Linked DNA regions of Homo sapiens: regions 2, 3, 4, 5, 6 and 7 are each linked to region 1. The links are contacts of gene promoters, found by promoter capture Hi-C in blood cells and fetal thymus (Javierre and others, 2016). All regions are on one chromosome and are shown on one strand. The core of a region is centred on a gene start or on the middle of the fragment in contact, and the rest is flanking DNA. Distances in the headings are between cores, read along the strand shown.

Region 1 (2,700 bases), core at 182-2,681:
AAATCCTGTGTCCATTCTGGGGTGTGAGTTCCTTCTGGATCATTCAGCCAGAGGAGAATCTTTATTGGCTTTAAATAAATTCAGATCTATTAACAATCCATTAACAAATTTGTATCCATTAACAAATTGGATAAAATGATCAAAAAAGAGAGGCAGATAGTAACCTTGACAATCTCTTCCTGGATCCAGCGTTCATCTTCTGAGGAGTGGTGGAGGTGGCTGAGACCAACCACGCACCACCACCCCTTCTCCCACTTCGATTACAGAGGCTTTGAGGTAAAGCTCGCACAAGGGCTCAAGGCAAGGCCTGGTCTTCTGCCACCCCAGTGCCCAGCTCCTCACTCTGGGCTTGGCCCAAACTCCGTGGATGTTCTGTAAACACCTGCTGGAAGAAGAGGAGTGCGGGAGGAAGCGGGGAAAGGGATGTGTGGGGTGGGGGGATCACGGTTCTGTGAGGGAGGCTGCTAAGCAGAAAAGCAACAAAACCGGCCACAAGAGAACGGTGCTGCTGTGAACAGAGGGCTGTGAGGGAGGGCGGGGGGCGTGACCTTGGCGCTCATCTTGTAAACTCGGAGACATTCCTTGGGAAAAGATATTTCCCTAAACTACATCGATCTTGGGGCCGGACCCTTTCATCGTCCCACAACAATCACCACCGGGTCTACGTCCTTTAAAAACACCTGAGCGGCGGACCCGGTGGCTCATGCCTGTAATCCCGGCACTTTGGGAAGCCGAGGCGGGCGGATTGCTTGAAACCAGGAGTTCAAGACCACCTTGGGCAACATAGGGAGACCCCGTCTCTACAAATAGTAATAGTAATAATAATAATAATAATAATAATAATAATAATAATAATAAATTAAATTAGCCAGCGTGGTGTCGTGTGCCTACAGTCAGTCCCAGCTACTCGGGAGGCTGAGGCGGGAGGATCTCCTGAGCCCACGAGTTCCAGGCTGCAGTGAGCTGTGGTCGCGCCATTGCACTCCAGCCTAGGCGACAGAGCCAGCCCCCTTGTCTGTATAAAAACAGAGAAAGAAAAGAGAAGAAAGAAGGAAAGGAAGGAAGAAAAAGAAAGGGAAAGACCACTGGAAGTGGAGGCCAGGCGTGCCTGAAGCCTTGGCAATCAACAGCCAGCGCACACTCGCAGCCTCGGTCTCTGGGCGGGCCTCTCCACCCCTTTCCTCCACGGGGCCTATGGGGCTGCGGGGAGGAAGGGGCGCACCCATCGTCGACCCCTACAGGGCGCGCAGTGGGTGATTGCGGCACTGGCTCGCGTTCCCGCCCGAGGGAGACGAGGCGGGACAGCGGGCGGGAAAGGGAGCCTGCGCCGCAATCTTTCCCGCCCGAAAGACCCGCCCCGCGGTGGGCCCCAGTCCCCGCCCGGTCCGCGGCGCTGCCGGCCCCTCCTCGCCGCCGCGGAGCTGGACCGCAGTTGTGCCCCGCCGACCATGCGCCGCCTCCCGCGGGCCCTGCTGCTGCAGCTGCGCCTCGCCCTGCTGGTGGCCGCGGGGGCCCCGGAGGTGCTGGTCAGCGCGCCGCGGAGCCTGGTGTGGGGGCCCGGGCTGCAGGCGGCCGTCGTCCTGCCGGTCCGCTATTTCTACCTGCAGGCGGTCAACTCGGAGGGCCAGAACCTCACTCGCTCTCCCGCAGGTAGTGTCCAGCCGCCGGCCTCCCTCGTCCCGCGGCCGGGTCCCCGCGCGTCCCCGCCGCCCGGGAGTCCGCCCGCGGCCTGCGTGGCGTCCCTCCCCGGCGTGTGTCGCCCCTTTTTGGGTCTGGTCAGCTCCTCTTCCCTCCTCCCGCCCATACTCAAAGCGGGCAAAAATCACCACGAAAGTTTGTGGAATGAATGAATGAATGAACTTGAAGGGCCCTTCCGCATTTAATGTGCAGGGACTGATGTTGCGAATGGACGGCGCCCGGGCGTTACAAGGAGTGTGCCGTGAGTCACACGTTGCCTTCCATCTCGGACTTAGTTGTCTGAACTGTGAGGGATTGCAGGGAGCGCTTTCCAGTGGTGAGTCATCAAGCCGACGGATCGCGTCGGATTACATGGCTTAGGCCTGGTGGGTTTGGAGCAACGAAATCCTACGCAGAGGAAATGTCAGAGCCGTAGGAAGGAGGAGGGGTTTACGTGTTAGTTTTTTGTTTCCTTTTTAGTTCTGAGTTTTTGAAAGCAGATTACAGGAACTAGGGAAACTCAGTAGAAATCATTCGGTTTTCCCTCCACGGAGGGTGAGATGGATCTCGTCCTGAATCCCTTTCTGCCCGGTCCTCCTCCCACGTTGTCCTTCACGTCTTAACCTTTGCAACTTCTTAAAACTTGTCCTGCTGGTTTCACGCTGTTGTCAGTCAGGATTTGCTAATGTATAATTTGGGGCTCTGGCCAACTAGCACCTTGTTGTATCAGCGAAGAGACAATTAGAATAAACCAGTGCCTCTGCCCCTGCTAGTCCAGCTGGGAACATAGCTGCCAGAAGTGTGTCCCAACTTGGGAAAGGGGTAAGGGGGTCTTGACAGCTGGGCAAAGCAGAGAATTTAGGAACCAAACATAATTCACTTTTAGATTTAATGATTTTTAAAATTTCATTCATTCAAGAAATACTTCTTTGATGTCTACTTCTGTGTTTGGTAATTCTGCTGGGAATCTAAGGATGAAAAGACAATGCCTGACCATCAAGGAACTTACAGTCTGTTGGTCAA
Region 2 (2,700 bases), core at 137-2,636, 440 kb after region 1:
TGAATTCATAGGTCTGGAAAATGAAAGGTGAGACAGGTAGGCTACGAGACATGGTAGATTCTTATTCTTTTTTTTTTTGAGACAGTTTCACTCGTTGCCCAAGCTGGAGTGCAATGGCGCGATCTCACTGCAACCTCCGCCTCCCGGGTTCAAGCGATTCTCCTGCCTCAGCCTCCCGAGTAGCTGAGATTACAGGCACGCACCACCATGCCCGGGTAATTTTTTGTATTTTTAGTAGAAACAGGGCTTTACCATGTTAGCCAGGCTGGTCTTGAACTCCTGACCTCAGGTGATCCACCCGCCTCGGCCTCCTAAAGTGCTGGGATTAGAGGCGTGGGCCACGGCATCCAGCCAGATTCTTCTTTTAGTGGTATTCAATTTGCATAATTATTTCTACCTCGCTCAAATTTCGTTTAAAAAAAAAAGCATTTCTGATTTTCATTAGTTATATAGCTCTGTATAAGGAATAGTTTGCTTTGCCTCAGCTACAACGTAAGAGTTGAACTAAAAATTATCTTAAGTTCCCCCACTTTATGATTCTACTCTATCATTATCAGGCCCTTAACCATACAAGGATATCTGTAATGTATTCAATAATTAATTTCCTGGCCTTTCTAGTTTGACTAAGATTCTTTCTGTACTACTATCATTAGTGGCACTACAAAAGTCTGGATCACCTTGTCTTTTTGAACACCAAGCTTAATTTTTTTTTTTAATTTTAGACCTCCTCTGTGGAGAGGATACCATGCCTGAAATACCAAAATACTGAAGGTTAATAAGTGCTTATTTTAATGTTAATAATTTATAACTTGTGACCTAGTTGCTTATTCAGCTTTTTAAATCAGTTTTGCACAGATGGTAAAATAGTTTTTACTTGTCTTAGAATTAGTAAGCAGTTTTCTCTGAACCAGTGCCTAACAGTAAAAGCTATCATGCCAGGCACAGTGCTCAAATGCTTAATGTAACATATTTCATTTAATTCTGCTAATACAAAAGGGTATTATTCAATTTTTTTTTTTTTTTTAGACAGAGTCTCGCTCTGTCACCCAGGCTGGAGCGCAATGGTGTGATCTCTCCTTACTGCAACCTCCGCCTCCTGGGTTCAAGCGATTCTCCTGCCTCAGCCTCCCGAGTAGCTGAGATTACAGGTGCGTGCCACCACGCCCAACTAATTTTTTTGTATTTTTTTTTTAGTAGAGACAGGGTTTCACCGTGTTGGCCAGGCTGGTCTTGAACTCCTGACCTCATGATCCACCCATCTCGGCCTCCCTAAGTGCTGGGATTGCAGGCGTGAGCCACCGCGCCCGGCCTATTCCATTTTATAGTTAGGAAAAGAGAGACTACAAAGGTTGAATAACTTGCCAAAACGCAGACAGCTGGTAAAATAACATCTGTGGGATTCAAATCCTCATCTAATTCCAACATGTATGACCCTAACCACTGTAATACACTCCCTCCCTATCGGTGCCCTGGTCATTCTGAAGTGATCAAGACTTACACTACCAATTCACTTTTCTATTCCTCTATTGTATAAACAATCCATTTTATTCTAGTGTCATCCTGAGGATAGGGACTAGGTCTATCTTATTATCCCCAACTAGCATAATGCCTGACACACTGTGGGTATATAATAAATACTAATTGAATTTCCCCAGGAAATACTAAGGTATGCAGGACTATCACCTAAAAACTAAAAACCAAACACAAATTTTAAGTCATTTTGGCTTAAAGCTGGGTGTGGTTGCATGCGCCTACTGTCCCAGCAACTCAGGAGGCTGAGGTGGGAAGACTGCTGAAGGCCAGGAATTCGAGAATGCAGTGCACTATGATCAAACCTGTGAACAGCCACTGCACTCCAGCCTGGGCAACATAGCGAGACTCTGCCTCTTAAAACACAAAAGGCATTTGGCTTAATTTTTTTTCTTGCTCTTTTCTTATGGTTGTGTTACTTTTTGCTGTCAACATGCCTGTTCAGCAGCACAGCTCGGAAGCCTCTTACCTTGTTTTACATTAAATACATTCAATACATTTCTGTTCATCTGCTATAGGCCCAGCGAGTGATAATCAAGCTTATTAGAATTGTATGTAAAATCAGATCTAAGTAGGGTCTAAGTGGCTCTCCTATAAGTAAAAATAAAACTGTAAGAGTAGGGCTTCAGACATCTAATGCAACACTTAACTGTCTCAGATCTTCACAAGGCTAGTTCCCTATCATTCAGGTCTTAACTCCAATATCATTCCCTCAGAGATCTTTTCTGACCATATTCCATAAAGTAAAAGCAGCAGGAGAAGCATTACCACCACCAATACACTCTATAGTATTACTCTTACTTCATTTAAAAAAAAAAAAATCACTTTGGGCCGGGTGCAGTGGCTCACGTCTGTAATCCCAGCACTTTGGGAGGCCGCCGCGGGCAGATCACGAAGTCAGGAGATCAAGACCATCCTGGCTAACACGGTGAAACCCTGTCTCTACTAAAAATACAAAAAATTAGCCGGGTGTGGTGGTGGGCACCTGTAGTCCCAGCTACTCGGGAGGCTGAGGCATGAGAATCACATGAACCTGGGAAGCAGAGGTTGCAGTGAGCGGAGACTGCACTACTGCACTCTAGCCTGGGTGACACATCAGGGCTATGTTTCAAAAAAAAAAAAAAAAAAAAAGGCACTCTTCATAATATTCTTTTTTTTTTTTTTTTTTGA
Region 3 (2,700 bases), core at 130-2,629, 350 kb after region 1:
GTCTGCCTTTTTCTTACTGATTTTTACGTGTTCTTTCTGTATTCTGGATACAGGTCCTTTTTCGGATGGATGTTAGGTGTCTGAGTATTCTCCCTTGTTATTCTTCTGAAAGCGTTATGGTTCAACCTATTTCATTTTGATTTGACCATCTATCTGGAATTGATTTTCCACATTGATATACAATTAACCCACACTATTTATTACCAAAGATTATCCTTTCCCAACTACATTGCACAGTTACTTTTCTCATAAGCTGGTAAATGTGTAGGTTTGTTTCTGGACTCTATGCTGTTCCATTGGTCTGCTTTCTTTAAGATGTGCTAATAACACACTGTCTTAATTAATGTTGAAAATCTTTTTTTTTTTTTTTTTGAGATAGTCTCACTCTGTCGCCCAGGCCAGAGGGCATTGGTGTCATCTCTGGTGACTGTAACCTCCGCCTCCCAGGTTCAAGCAATTCTCCTTCCTGAGCCTCCTCAGTAGCTGGGATTACAGTTGTGCGCCACCACACCCAGTTAATTTTTGTATTTTTAGTAGAGACAGGGTTTCACCATATTGTCCAGGCTGGTCTTGAACTCCTGACCTCAGGTGATTCACCCACCTCAGCCTCCCGAGGTGCTGGGATTACAGGCGTGAGCCACTGTGCCAGTCCCAAAATCTTTTATATTTTAGTTCTATTTATTTTCTATACTGAGTGAAGTCTGTTAGTACTAATGGATTTACCAGTGCTACTTTTTAATTTGTGAAGTATTATCTGTAAATAATTATTTTCCAATTTTATTTATTTTTACTACACTGATATTAGCACTTCCAGTGCAACTAATAATGATCAAAGTCTGCTTCATTGTCTTGTTCCCCATTTTAATGGCAATGTTAGGTATAATGTTTGCTTTTATTAAGTATAATGTTTGCTTTTGTTGGTAGAGTTTTACGATTTTACATCAGAAGTACCTGTTCAACTTAATTGCCACGTTTAAGCATCAATTAAAATATTTTCATTGAACTCATGAATTTCTTTTTATATTAGTGATTATTTTAAGTAAGTTTGCTTTGTGAATATTTTATTTAAATGTTTTTGGTTTTTGTTTTTGAGACAAGGTCTTGCTATATTGCCCAGGCTAGAGTGCAGTGGCTGTTCATGGGCACAGTCATAGCCCACTATAGCCTTGAACTACTGGGCTCAAAGGATCCTCCTGCCTCAACTTCATGAGTAGCTGGGACTACAAGTGCACACCAACACACCCAATGAAAAGTTTACTTTTAATGAGATTGGTTTCAAACTTATGCCAGTTTTTAAAATGAATTTTAAACCTTTCCTTCTTTTTCTAGTTTATTTGAATATTGGGGATAATAAATAGTACCAGTGCTAAAGTGTGAAGTTTAAATTGTACAATATATGTAAAAGCACTTAGATTAATGCCTGGAACATAATAAGCACTTTAAGAACTAGTTGCTATTATAGCTGATGCTGTTTTTTATTTCTTTTTTCTGCAACAGTTTATTTAGAATGAGAAATAACTGTTCCTTGAGACTAAATCACTACTAAATTATCTAGGCCTGGAGCCTTTTGCTTAAGCAGTTTTCCATTTTTTTTTCTCCTAAATTTCTTCCTGGCTGATTATCTATTCAGGCTTTGACCTTTTTTTTCCTGAGTCAAATATCACATTTTTTTTAATTTTGGCTTTTGTTCTCTAAGATACAATTAACTTTTTTCTGTCAAAAACACTTCTTAGATTCAACAGTTGTATAGGAGCCTATTCTTTGTGCTTCCTACTTTCTCAGGGTCCTTTTTGCATGTTTATTTAACTTAAATTAATAAACAGTTATCTGATTTTTTTTTCCCCTTCTTAAACCATGTAAGCATTTAAGGCTGTGAATTTGCTTCTGATTTCAACTTTCAGCAAAATTTGGGTAAGTACTTTTAATATTCATACATAACTATTTACAATAAATGATACCAGGCTCTTTTTTGCCTAAAATTTTTATTATTGTGGTCAGGATAAGTTGCAGGTTTTATAAATGTTGCACGGGGGCTTAGAAATAGGTAATGTTGGCTGGGCATGGTGGCTCACACCTGTAATCCCAGCACTTTGGGAGGCCAAGGCAGGCAGATCACTTGAGCCCAGGAGTTCGAGACCAACCTGGGCAACATGATGAAACCCCCATCTCTACCAAAAATTAGCCAGGCATGGTAGTATGCACCTGTGGTCCTAGCTACCAGGGAGGCTGAGGTGGGTGTATCACTTGAGCCCAGGAAGTCAAGGCTGCAGTGAGATGAGACCATGCCACTGCACTACAACCTGGGCAACAGAGCAAGACCCTATCTCAAAAAAAAAGTTAAAAAAGAAATAGGTATTGTTTAGAAAGGTAAAGTTTGATATGTATTCAGTCTTATACTGTTTGAATCCTGTCTTTGCTTTAATACTTTTTTCACAAGTGTTTGTTTAATCCATGAAACATTATTATCTTGGTCATAGCTTTGGCTTTTTTTCTGCCAAAAAAAAAAGTACAAAGTAGACCATCATAAAAAGTAGTTCTTTCCCCATTTTAACAGTTTCTGCCTTCTCATAATTTATGATACATGCAACCCTTTTTACTTTTTTTTTTTTTTTTTTTTTTTTTTTTTTTTTTTGAGACAGAGTTTCGCTCTTGTTGCCCAGGCTAGAGTGCAGTGGCATGATCTCAGCTCACCACAACCTC
Region 4 (2,700 bases), core at 141-2,640, 470 kb after region 1:
AGGAAAGCTTGTGAGACTGGTTTTAGATGTATTACATTTAACATATCTATTATACATTCATATGAAAATGTTGAATAGGCAGTCCAATATGGAAATCTAGAATTTAAAAGGCCTATCAGAAAATAAAAACTTGAAGTCATCAGAATACAGATGGGTTTTAAAACCTGTTATTGGATGAGATCACTGTGAGAGAAGTGATACATAAAGATGGAGACCCAAGCCTGAGGTTTTAGATATCCAACATTAAGAGGCGGAGAGAGGAGTAAGAACTAGCAAAGGAGACAAAGAGAGCAACCAGAGCACAGGTGGCAAGAAAACCAAGAGTATGGTATTCTGGACAAAAAGTAAATAAAGTGTGTCAGAAAGACAGAATAATCAATTTTAAGAATTTCTCCTGACAGATCAGGTAAGATAACCACTGAAACAGCAATATGGAAGTTACTGAAACTTTGTCCACAGAAGTTTTTGCAGAGTAGTAAGGACAAATACCAGATTAGAGTGGAATGAAGAGTGGAATTAAGAGAAACGAGGAGCCAGGCGCAATAGTTCATGCTTGTAATCCCAACACTGGGAGGCTGAGGCGGGCGGGTCACTTGAGCCCAGGAGTTCGAGACCAGCCTGGGCAACATGGAAAAAGCCTGTCTCTACTAAAAATACAAAAAATTTGGCTGGGCACGGTGGCTCACACATGTAATCCCAGCACTTTGGGAGGCCGGGGTGGGTGGATGACTTGACATCAGGAGTTCGAGACCAGCCTGACCTACATGGTGAAACCCTGTCTCTACTGAAAATACAAAAATCAGCTGGGTGTGGTGGTAGGCCCCAGTAATCCCGGCTACTCAGGAGGCTGAGGTGGGAGAATTGCTTGAACCTGGGAGGCGGAGTTTGCAGTGAGCCAAGATTGTGCCACTGCACTCCAGCCTGGACAGCAGGGGGAGACTGTCTCAAAGAAAAAAAAAAAAAATTAGCTGGGCATGGTGGCGCCTATAATCCCAGCTACTAAGGCCTGGAGGCGGAGGTTGCAGTGAGCCATGATGGCGCCACTGCACTCCAGCCTAGGCGACAGCGACAGTGAGACCCTATCTCAAAAAACAAATAGTAAATAAAAACAAAAATAAATAAGAAGAAAACTAGAAAGAGTACAGACAACCCTTCACAATTTTTCCTGTATAAGAGAGTAAAGAAATGGCATGGTAATTGATAGGGTGAGAGGAAGTGAAAAAATAATAATTTTTTTTTTTTTTTTTTTGAGACGGAGTCTCACTCTGTCTTTCAGGCTGGAGTGCAGTGGCGTGATCTCTGCTCACTGCAACCTCCGCCTCCCAAGTTCAAGTGGTTTTCCTGCCTCAGCCTCCCGAGTAGCTGGGAATACAGGTGCCCGCCACCATGCCCAGCCAATTTTTCTATTTTTAGTAGAGATGGGGTTTCGCCACATTGGCCAGGGTGGTCTCGAACTCCTGACCTCGTGATCCGCCCACCTCAGCCTCCCAAAGTGCTGGGATTACAAACGTGAGCCACTGCGCCTGGCCAAATAATTTTTTAAAGCTAGGATACAGTATGATTGTATGCTGACAGGAACATTCCAGGATATGAAATGTTGATGATGTGGGGAAAGGGAGAGAAACTGCTAGTGAATTTAAATTGCACTGGATAGGCAAGAGGGAATGGGATCTAGCGCATATGTGGAGGAAGTGACTACAGGCTAAGAGGAGAAGGCAAAAGAATGTACATGTAGGTGCTGGTACAAGGATAGATGTCGTACGACTCTGAGAAGTTCATATTTTATTGCTTTAATTTCCCAGTGATGTGGAAATAACGACAATGTCTGAGAAGATCGGGGAGGAAATGTTAGAATGTTGACAGAAAAGATGTGAAAAATACATCTAGGAAAGTGGAAGAATAAGTGACTCTGGAAATGCAGTATGACTGGCCTCATTGTGGTCATGGATTTAAGGTGCAAATAGCACGGTTGTGTCTTTTTCTCGAGTGACATTCAGCTGCACAGGTACTGGCACTGAAAAGTGAAGAGACAGATTTAACCAGGGTTGTACACTTTTCCCAAGCAGAACAAGACAGGGGCAAGGAAGCAAAAAGTGTATTGAAGGGAACAACTATAATGATTGAGAAGAGAATTTATGTTGGGTAAGGCGGAGAAAATGGACTTCAAGGTGAAAAGAGAAAGAGACTTCTGCTTCCCATCATGACAGAATAACAGGAACCAGATTTTCCCTCCTGCCTAAACAAACTAGAAAACCAAAAGCAGTGCAGGACAGCGCTTCCTGAGAAAAGAAAAACAAATGAGGTGAGCGCTACAAATGTCCAAACATACTGCCTAGAGAGTGTCTCCAGGCCTCATCACAAGGAGGGGAAACCCAAACAGCCGCTAGGGGTTTCACTACATTTAAGAGGCAGAGTTCAGAGTTTGAAAAGGCTGAGGTGACTAGAATTTGTGGCATCAAGGGAGCTCTGGGTATCTATACAGAAGGTCCCTGAGGCCTGTGGCTGAGTACTAACCTGTACCTGGGTGTGAGAAAACTGTAAGAGACTGGGGAAAGAACCATTAGGAAGGAATGGGAATGGGCAGAACAATCAGCAGAGTGCACACAGGGCCAGAAACAGTTAGTGTTGCTACCAGCCAGAGTGGAAACACCCTTTAAAGTGCCAGGCATTGGGTAGAGTCCACAGAAAGTTATTGAGTCT
Region 5 (2,700 bases), core at 188-2,687, 370 kb after region 1:
ACCTGCCTCGGCCTCCCAAAGTGCTGGGATTACAGGTGTGAGCCACCGCACCCGGCCCAGAGCCATAATTTCTTAAACAGTAAGACAATAATATGAACTTTAAGCAAAAGAAGATAAAAGCTCTCTTGAATACTATAAAACAGCACTGTGACAGTTCTCTCCTTACACTTGTCTTCCACAATCTCCTATTAAGTTTAGAGATAAATAACAGAATGGTTGCTTAGATTTTGATAGAAGATCTTAACTAAGTCACTTTAGTGACCCTTACAAAACAGAGACTCTTCAGAAGGTCCTAGGAGATGCTGTAATGGCCCTCCTTGTCTAATTCCCAACTGGTCCACTCCCTCTCTTCTAGGATCTTCTATACAGTCTCTGCTTGTACCACACACAATACAATGCGAGTCCCTGTGAGTAAAAGAAGAACACTGCCCAGTTCTAGAGGGAATGTTGTTTTGTAGCAGACTATAAGGAAGCAACAAACATTGGCAGAGACTAACTGACATGTTTTTCTATTATAGTCATCTACTTTAACTGAATATTTGAATAGTTAGCTATTCCTAACTGTTACATAATCCTGCTTTGACTTTCACATGTATCCAAATCATAAGTATATGCATTTTTATTGACATTTCCTTTAAATTCTGGAAATTTTAAAGCACAATTTAAATTACTTACCTTCAAAGTGGGTTTTGATACATAACTCCGTTCCACATATCTTATTTCCTGTAATATAAATATTTATAATGTTATAATGTAAAAAATATTAAACTATATCATTTTATATTTCTCAGTGATAAGGTTATAGTGGTTTCTTCCTGCATCCTTATGCTTTTATTTCCAAGTTTTTTGTGGTCAGAATATATCACTTTTAACAATTAGAAAAAAATGACTGCTTTATAATAAACTTTTCTAATTAACTATTCATTGGAAATGTACGTTTTAACTCTTAAGTTTACTATCTTAAAATTTCCAAGTCTTGGCCAGGCGTGGTGGCTCATGCCTGTAATCCTAGCATTTTGGGAGGCCAAGGTGGACGGATCACCTGAGGTCAGGAGTTCAAGACCAGCCTGGACAACGTGGTGAGACCCAGTCTCTACTAAAAATACAAAAGTTAGCCCAGCATTGTGGCACATGCCTATAATCCCAGCTACTTCAGAGGCTGAGGCAGGAGAATAGCTTGAACCCAGGAGGCGGAGGTTGCAGTGAGCCAAGATTCTGGGACTACACTCCAGCCTTGGCAACAAAGCAAGACTGTCTAAAAAAAAAAAAAAAAAATTCCAAGTCTTTCTTAAATATAGCTTTCTAAAATGTAGTTTTGAGTTAAAGCTAGGTTCTAAATTATTTAGTCTTAGAATCTAACAAGATATTTTCATTTTTTAAGATTGTTTTCAAGTAAAACTTGCTGTTTCTCCCTATCCACTTCCAACAATTGTCTGATTTATATGAGGCAAACACATCTCATATAAATATGACCTATAATAGCAGATAAATTATTTCTTAAAAAAGGAAAGAGTAAACATCTTGCCCCTACTACTTCTCAGTTCTTTCCACACTTCTTAGGAACAAATGTCAACAGTAGGCTGGGCAAGTGGCTCACGCCTGTAATCCCAACACTTTGGAAGGCTGCGGTGGGCATATCACTGGAGGTCAGGAGTTAGAGATCAGCCTGGCCAACTTGGCGAAAAAACCCCGTCTCTACTAAAAATACAAAAATTAGCCAGGCGTGGTAGCGGGCACCTGTAATCCCAGCCACTCAGGAGGATGAGGCAGAAGAATTGCTTGAACCCAGGAGGCGGAGGTTGCAGTGAGCCAAGATCACGCCACTGCACTCCAGCCTGGGAGACAAGAGTGAAACTCCATAATAAATAGATTAATTAATTAATTCTGACAACGCAGGACACAATTCAGAGACCTACTGATCTGAAATTAGACTATCAGTAGCTGGGCGCAGTGGCTCATGCCTGTAATCCCAGCACTTTGGAGGCCGAGGCGGGTGGATCATGAGGACAGGAGTTCAAGACCAGCCTGACCAACATGGTCAAACCCCGTCTCTACTAGAAATATAAAAGTTAGCTGGGTGTGGTGGTCCATGCATGTAAGCCCAGCTACTCAGGAGTCTGAGGCAGGAGAATCACTTGAACCTGGGAGGCAGAGCTTGCAGTGAGCCAAGATCACGCCACTGTACTCCAGCCTGGGCGACAGAGCGAGTCTCAAAAAATGATAATAAATTTAAAAAATAATAATTTAAAAACTTACAAAAAAAAAAGTTCCTACTTGTAGTAAACATGCCGGTCACTGCCTCTCCAAACACATGTCTTTCTCAAAGGACAACCCTAAGTACTTACAAGGTGACTCCCCTGCCTCTGGCCAGAGCTGATGGGATCAAGAATGGAATGGACTCACCCAAGCTAGGACCCAGAGAGACTGGGTCAGTTGGATGACGGTGGGGACTGGGACTGAAAAGTCAAAAGGGGCTGGAGCTGACCAGCCAATGCCACAGAAAAGCAGCGGTTAGAACAAAGAGAAAAGCCATGAATACACTGAGAAGCAAAAGAATGCAACATATATACTCAGAGACAGGAGAAATAGACCATGGCACACCACAAGAGGCAAAAGATGGCTTTGGTTAGTGATTTTCTAGCTTGGGTTCTGGCAGGGTCAGTTGCAATTTATTTTGTTTGAAAATTTTCATATATAAAA
Region 6 (2,700 bases), core at 65-2,564, 500 kb after region 1:
CCATGCCCAGCTAATTTTATATTTTTAGCATAGATGGGGTTTCGCCACGTTGGCCAGGCTGGTTCAAACCCCTGACCTCAGGTGGTCTGCCCACCTCAGCATCCCAAAGTGCTGGGATTATAGGCAGGAGTCACCACAGTCAGCCACAAATGGATATTTTAACCAACCCGATGGGCTGACCAACTTGCACCCTGTGGATTTGCTTAGGGCCGGTTTATCTTCCACTGTATTAGCTAGTGTTGTTGATGGATGTAACTGGGACTAGATGCAGGTCTTCCAAATTGTGATCCAAGGCTTTTCCTGCCTGAAGGATGGTTTCAGAGAATAAAATCAAAGAAAACAGCGACCAAAATGCTCAGGGCATGCTTCTCTTGTCCTGTGAGGTGGACCCTTCACTTCTGAACCTTCACTTCACCTTTCCTGTGGCTGCCTCCGACCCTGGTTCCTCTGTGCCCCTGTCTACAACTGTGGACTCGCTCCCACAATGTACCCTGACTCTTCACATGGGGCAGGTGGTTAACCTGAGATGGTTCTAGGTTTTCTGATGTTTTTACTGGATGTGTTTTCTTATCCTCTAGACCTGTTTGCTCCAGTGACTAAGTCAAGCTCACCCCTCTCCTTTCCTCTGTCAGTAAATAGATTTTCCAGCCGCTGGAAACTCTCCTTGGAAAGAATGCAAGTCTGAGGTTTTCAACTCCAGGCTCCTTAACCTCCCACTTTGGTGCCCCCTCAGTGGCCACGGTTGGGTTTGCAGCAGCTGGGATGGGTGGTGTTCAAAACTCTATTTCAACAGCTACCCCCAGTGGAATATCAGTTAACTACACTGGCAAGAGCTACCTGAGATCAGGTTGACTTGGCTTAAGGAGAATTTCAGACAGACCCTCAAAGAAACACACGTACACAACACACATATACCAACACTTCTGATACTTGTTTCATTATCCATAACTGTTCACTTTTTAAATACCAGAAAAGACAAACAATTTATCTTGTCTAAGTGGCACTAAGTAGAAGAAACAAAAATGAGCAGCCGTTGGAGAATTATGACACTTTTTATTAATGCTATCATTTGGGAGACTTCATCTAACTAGAATTTTATTTTTAAATTTTATAATAATACTTTTTATTTATGCTACTATTACTTAAAAGCCTTATCTAACTTTATTTTTATGTTATTTATTTATTTATTTATTTATTTTGAGATGGAGTCTCACTCTGTCACCCAGGCTGGATTGCAATGGCGCAATCTCGGCTCACTGCAACCTCTGCCTCCTGGGTTCAAGCGATTCTCCTGCCTCAGCCTCCTGAGTAACTGGGATTACAGGCACACCACCACGCCCAGCTAATGGGGTTTCACCATGTTGGTCAGGCTGGTCTCGAACTCCTGACCTCGTGATCTGCCTGCCTCAGACTCCTAAAGGGCTGGGATTACAGGCGTGAGCCACCGGGCCTGGCATAACTTATTTTTAAATATGCTCAGTTCAGACAATTAACAAGATAAAAATGAACCATTTGAAAATAAGATTTTAGTAATGTAATTTACAGATTTACTTTTTACATGAAATTCAATTTCTTAATTGATTCATATCTGAAGTAAATTGTCAGAGTATTTTTGCTGTGCCAAAGCTATCTAATAGTTATAGTATAAAGGATGCATTGTGCTATACTTTTGCTTAGTAAACTACTTATTACTTATAAAATCAAAATACTGCAAGACTTCACAAGTCTAGGCAATGAGGTCACATCAACTTTTTTTTTTTTTTTTTTTTTTGAGATAGAGTCTTGGTCTGTTGCCCAGGCTGGAATGCAGCAGTGCAATCTTGGCTAACCGCAACCTCTGCCTCCAGGGTTCAAGTAATTCTCCTGCCTCAGCCTCCCTAGTAGCTGGGATTACAGGCGTGCGCCACCACGCCAAACTAATTTTTGTATTTTTAGTAGAGACAGCGTTCCACCATGTTGGCCTGGCTGGTCTCGAACTCCCGACCTCAAGTGATCCACCTACCTCGGACTCCTAAACTGCTGGGATTATAGGCATGAGCCACTGCTCCTGGCCCACATCGACATTAATACCTAAATTTTGCTGCTCCTTTTACTAGCCTCCACTTCCCCTATCACTTTTAAATTTTGTTTTATTTTGTTAGTCTCCAAGGCATGCTTCAAAATGCTCAGGATCAATTCTGCTTATGTTGTTCTGCTCCATTGAGCTCCATAATTTAGTCAGCTATCTAAAATATATTGGTGATTTCAAAAAATATAATTAGAAATGCTAATTATGAGCCAATTGAGAATATGCATAAGGGAACAAACAGGGCTTAAAATATTTACATTGTGGTAGTAAAGCTGTATTGTAGATTGCATCTTGAAAGGTCAAGTGGTTTTTTTTTTGTTTGTTTTTTTTTTTTGAGAGAGGGTCTAGCTTTGTTGCCCAGGCCAGAGTGCAGTTGGGGAGATCACAGCTCACCGCAACCTCAGCTTCCTGGGCTCAATCGTTCCTCCCACCTCAGCCTTCCTGAGCATCCTGGCTAATTTTTTGCTTTTTTTGTAGAGATGGGGTTTCACTGTGTGGCCCAGGCTTGTCTCAAACTCCTGGACTCAAGTTATCCACCACCTTGGCTTCCCAAAGTGCTGAGATTACAGGAGTGAGCCACCACACCAGGCCCCAGCTGGTCATTTTTCCCTCTCTTTTGTTTGAATAGAACT
Region 7 (2,700 bases), core at 190-2,689, 410 kb after region 1:
TGGTGGCATGCGCCTGTAATCCCAGCTACTCAGGAGGCTGAGGCAGGAAAATCGCTTGAACCTGGGTGGCAGAAGTTGCAGTGAGCCAAGATCGCACCACTGCACTCCAGCCTGGGCAACAAAGTGAGACTCTGTCTCAAAAAAATATAAAAAATAAAAATAAAAATAAAATATACAGTGTAATGAAGTTTAGTATATCTACAGAACTGTGCAACCATCACCACTATCTAATTTTAGAACATTTTCATCACCCCAAAAAGAAACCCCATACTATTTACAGTCACTCGTCATTTCCCCTCCTGGCCCCAACTCCTGGAATTTGTGGATTTGCCTATTCTGGACACTTCACATTAGTGGAATCATACGATATGGTCTTTGGGATTGGCTTCTTTCACTCAGCATTATGTTTTCAAAGTTCACCTAATATTGCAGCATGTATTATTAGTTTATTCCTTTTTATCACAAAAAATATTCCATTGTATGGATAAATCACATTTTATTCATTAGCTCACTGACATTTTGGGTTGTTTCCACTTTTTGACTATTATTAGTAATCTTGCCATGAACATTTGTTTACAAGTTTTTACATGAAACATGTTTTCATTTCTCTTCAAATGAATTACCTAAGAGTGAAATTGCTGGGTCAGCTCTACGTTCAACATTTTAAGGAACTGCCCAACAGTTTTCCAAAGTGTCTGCACCATCTTATGTCTCCACTAGCAACTTACGAAGGTTCCAATTTCTCCTCTTCCTTACTAGCATTTGTTATCATCTGTCTTTATTTTAGCTACCCTAGTGGGAATAAAGTAGTATCTCTTTGTGTTTTTTTTGTTTTTGAGAAAGGGTCTCACTCTGTTGCCCAGGCTGCAGTGCAGTGGCACAATCTCAGCTCATTACAACTTTGAACTTCTGGGCTCAAGCAATCATCCCATCTCAGCCTCCTGAGTAGCTAGAACCACAGGCACACATCACCATGCCTAGCTGATTTCTGTATTTTTTGTAGACATGGAGTATTGTTATTTTGCCCAGGGTAGTTTCTAACTCCTGGCTTCATGCAATCCTCCCACCTCAGCCTTTCAAAATATTTGGGATAAGCAGGAGCCAACATGTTGAGCATTTCACTTGCATTTCACTAATGACTAATGATGTTGAGTATCTTTGCATGCACTTATTGGCCATCTGTCTATCTTCTGTGAAGAGATGTCAATTCGAATCCTTTGCCTGCTTTTAATTATTTGTCGTGTGTGTGTGTGTGTGTGTGTGTGTGTGTGTGTGTGAGTGAGAGAGACAGGATCTGACTCTGTTGCTCAGGCAGGAGTACAGTGGTAAGATCTCTGTTCAATGCAACCTCCACCTCACAGGCTCAGGCGATCCTCCCACCTCAGCCTCCCAAGCAGCTGGGACTAAGGTGCATGCCATCACACCCAGCTAATTTTTTAAATTTTTGTAGAGATGGGGTTTCACCACGTTGCCCAGGCTCATCTCAAACTCTGAGCACAAGCCATCTGCCCTCCTCAGCCTCCCAAAGTGCTGGGATTACAGGTGTGAGCCACCATGCCTAGCCTTGTTTGTCATTTTACTGTTGGGTCTTGATATTTTTTTTTTAACAAAGAAATAACATAGGCCGGGTGTGGTGGCTCACGCCTGTAATCTCAGTACTTTGGGAGGCCGAGGCAGGCGGATCACTTAAGACCAGGATTTCAAGACCAGCCTGGCCAACATGCAAAACCGTGTCTCTACTAAAAATACAAAAATTAGCCAGGCGTCATGGCACAAACCTGTAGTCCCAGCTACTTAGGAGGCTGAGACAGGAGAATTGCTTGAATCTGGGAGACAGAGGTTTCAGTGAGTCAAGATTGCACCACTGCAATCCAGCCTGGGTAACACAGCAAGACTACATCTCCAAAAAAAAGAAAAAAAGAAAGAAAGAAAGAAAATTTAATTCTAAAGGTTTCTCGTAGTAAATATGTATTAGTTTTGCTATTTTCCCCTTTTTCCTATATACTTATAAGTGACAGTAAGAGTTTTGAGTCTTTTGACAATAGTTTTAAAAAGTCACAGAATAATCATTCTTTTTCCTACTAAGCAGTTTCAGTTAGCACAGTAATTTTTACTATCCTAAAGTTCCATGCGAAGGGCTAGCTATAAGTTAAAATATCTGTAGGTCTCTCTCGTGTGTGCTTGCTCGCACTCTCTCTCTCTCCATATATATGTGGAGAGAGTTATATACATACACAGAAATTAAAGATATTTACTTTAATAATTAAAACAAAAAAAGAACTCAAAATACTTTATATGGGAATTTAGTTATAATCAGCATTGATTACCCTAAATAGGCCATCATTTAAAGGTTCTTTTTGCTATACAGAAGTATTTATTGTTATCATTTATAAACATCTCTAAAGTTAAGCATTTAGTACTGAAAATACCTTAAAGATATAATAATTTGTCCTGCAGTCTATTTATTTATTTTATTTTTCTTGAGATGGAGTCTTGCTCTGTCACCCAGGCTGGAGTTCAGTGGCTCGATTTCAGCTCACTGCAAGCTCCGCCCCCCAGGGTTCATGCCATTCTCCTGCCTCAGCCTCCCAAGTAGCTGGGACTACAGGCCCCCCACCACCACGCCTCGTTAATTTTTTTGTATTTTTAATAGAGACTGGGTTTCACTGTGTTAGCCAGGATGGTCTCGATCTCCTGACC

Evidence for each region. Contacts are between HindIII fragments. The CHiCAGO score rates a contact against its expected background, and 5 or more counts as called.
Region 2: a contact is called between a fragment that was not itself captured here and the fragment with the promoter of POGLUT3 in region 1, in 5 of 17 cell types (total CD4 T cells, non-activated CD4 T cells, total CD8 T cells and 2 more). The highest score is 8.3, in total CD4 T cells.
Region 3: a contact is called between a fragment that was not itself captured here and the fragment with the promoter of POGLUT3 in region 1, in 4 of 17 cell types (naive CD4 T cells, naive CD8 T cells, total CD4 T cells and 1 more). The highest score is 6.7, in naive CD4 T cells.
Region 4: a contact is called between a fragment that was not itself captured here and the fragment with the promoter of POGLUT3 in region 1, in 5 of 17 cell types (total CD4 T cells, fetal thymus, naive CD4 T cells and 2 more). The highest score is 10.8, in total CD4 T cells.
Region 5: a contact is called between a fragment that was not itself captured here and the fragment with the promoter of POGLUT3 in region 1, in 5 of 17 cell types (naive CD4 T cells, non-activated CD4 T cells, total CD4 T cells and 2 more). The highest score is 8.0, in naive CD4 T cells.
Region 6: a fragment that was not itself captured here is called in contact with the fragment with the promoter of POGLUT3 in region 1 in 4 of 17 cell types (fetal thymus, naive CD8 T cells, non-activated CD4 T cells and 1 more); the score reaches 6.4 in fetal thymus.
Region 7: a fragment that was not itself captured here is called in contact with the fragment with the promoter of POGLUT3 in region 1 in 5 of 17 cell types (total CD4 T cells, non-activated CD4 T cells, naive CD4 T cells and 2 more); the score reaches 7.1 in total CD4 T cells.

Annotation. Positions count from the first base shown.
Region 1 is chr11:108,497,115-108,499,814 of GRCh38, reverse strand. It overlaps POGLUT3 (protein O-glucosyltransferase 3), which reads left to right and starts at 1,431. Exons shown (of 8, transcript NM_153705.5): 1 at 1,431-1,650. The coding sequence starts at 1,449. It overlaps LOC112267909 (a long non-coding RNA gene), which reads right to left and starts at 754. Exons shown (of 3, transcript XR_007062880.1): 1 at 165-754. RefSeq lists a silencer at 1,279-1,798. The HindIII fragment of the contact is 8,220 bases long and covers 1-2,700 here.
Region 2 is chr11:108,058,207-108,060,906 of GRCh38, reverse strand. The region is part of intron 7 of CUL5 (cullin 5); the gene reads right to left. Among named protein-coding and RNA genes, the nearest start is that of CUL5, 51 kb to the right of the region's middle. The HindIII fragment of the contact is 1,371 bases long and covers 701-2,071 here.
Region 3 is chr11:108,151,564-108,154,263 of GRCh38, reverse strand. No RefSeq gene overlaps it. Among named protein-coding and RNA genes, the nearest start is that of ACAT1, 31 kb to the right of the region's middle. The HindIII fragment of the contact is 5,634 bases long and covers 1-2,700 here.
Region 4 is chr11:108,025,538-108,028,237 of GRCh38, reverse strand. All of the region lies in intron 1 of CUL5 (cullin 5), which reads right to left. Among named protein-coding and RNA genes, the nearest start is that of CUL5, 18 kb to the right of the region's middle. RefSeq lists an enhancer at 2,218-2,317. The HindIII fragment of the contact is 2,762 bases long and covers 10-2,700 here.
Region 5 is chr11:108,129,930-108,132,629 of GRCh38, reverse strand. It overlaps ACAT1 (acetyl-CoA acetyltransferase 1), which reads right to left. Exons shown (of 12, transcript NM_000019.4): 2 at 676-723. Among named protein-coding and RNA genes, the nearest start is that of ACAT1, 9.7 kb to the right of the region's middle. The HindIII fragment of the contact is 4,754 bases long and covers 1-2,700 here.
Region 6 is chr11:107,998,038-108,000,737 of GRCh38, reverse strand. No RefSeq gene overlaps it. Among named protein-coding and RNA genes, the nearest start is that of CUL5, 9.5 kb to the left of the region's middle. The HindIII fragment of the contact is 4,041 bases long and covers 1-2,700 here.
Region 7 is chr11:108,090,273-108,092,972 of GRCh38, reverse strand. All of the region lies in intron 13 of CUL5 (cullin 5), which reads right to left. Among named protein-coding and RNA genes, the nearest start is that of ACAT1, 30 kb to the left of the region's middle. The HindIII fragment of the contact is 5,776 bases long and covers 1-2,700 here.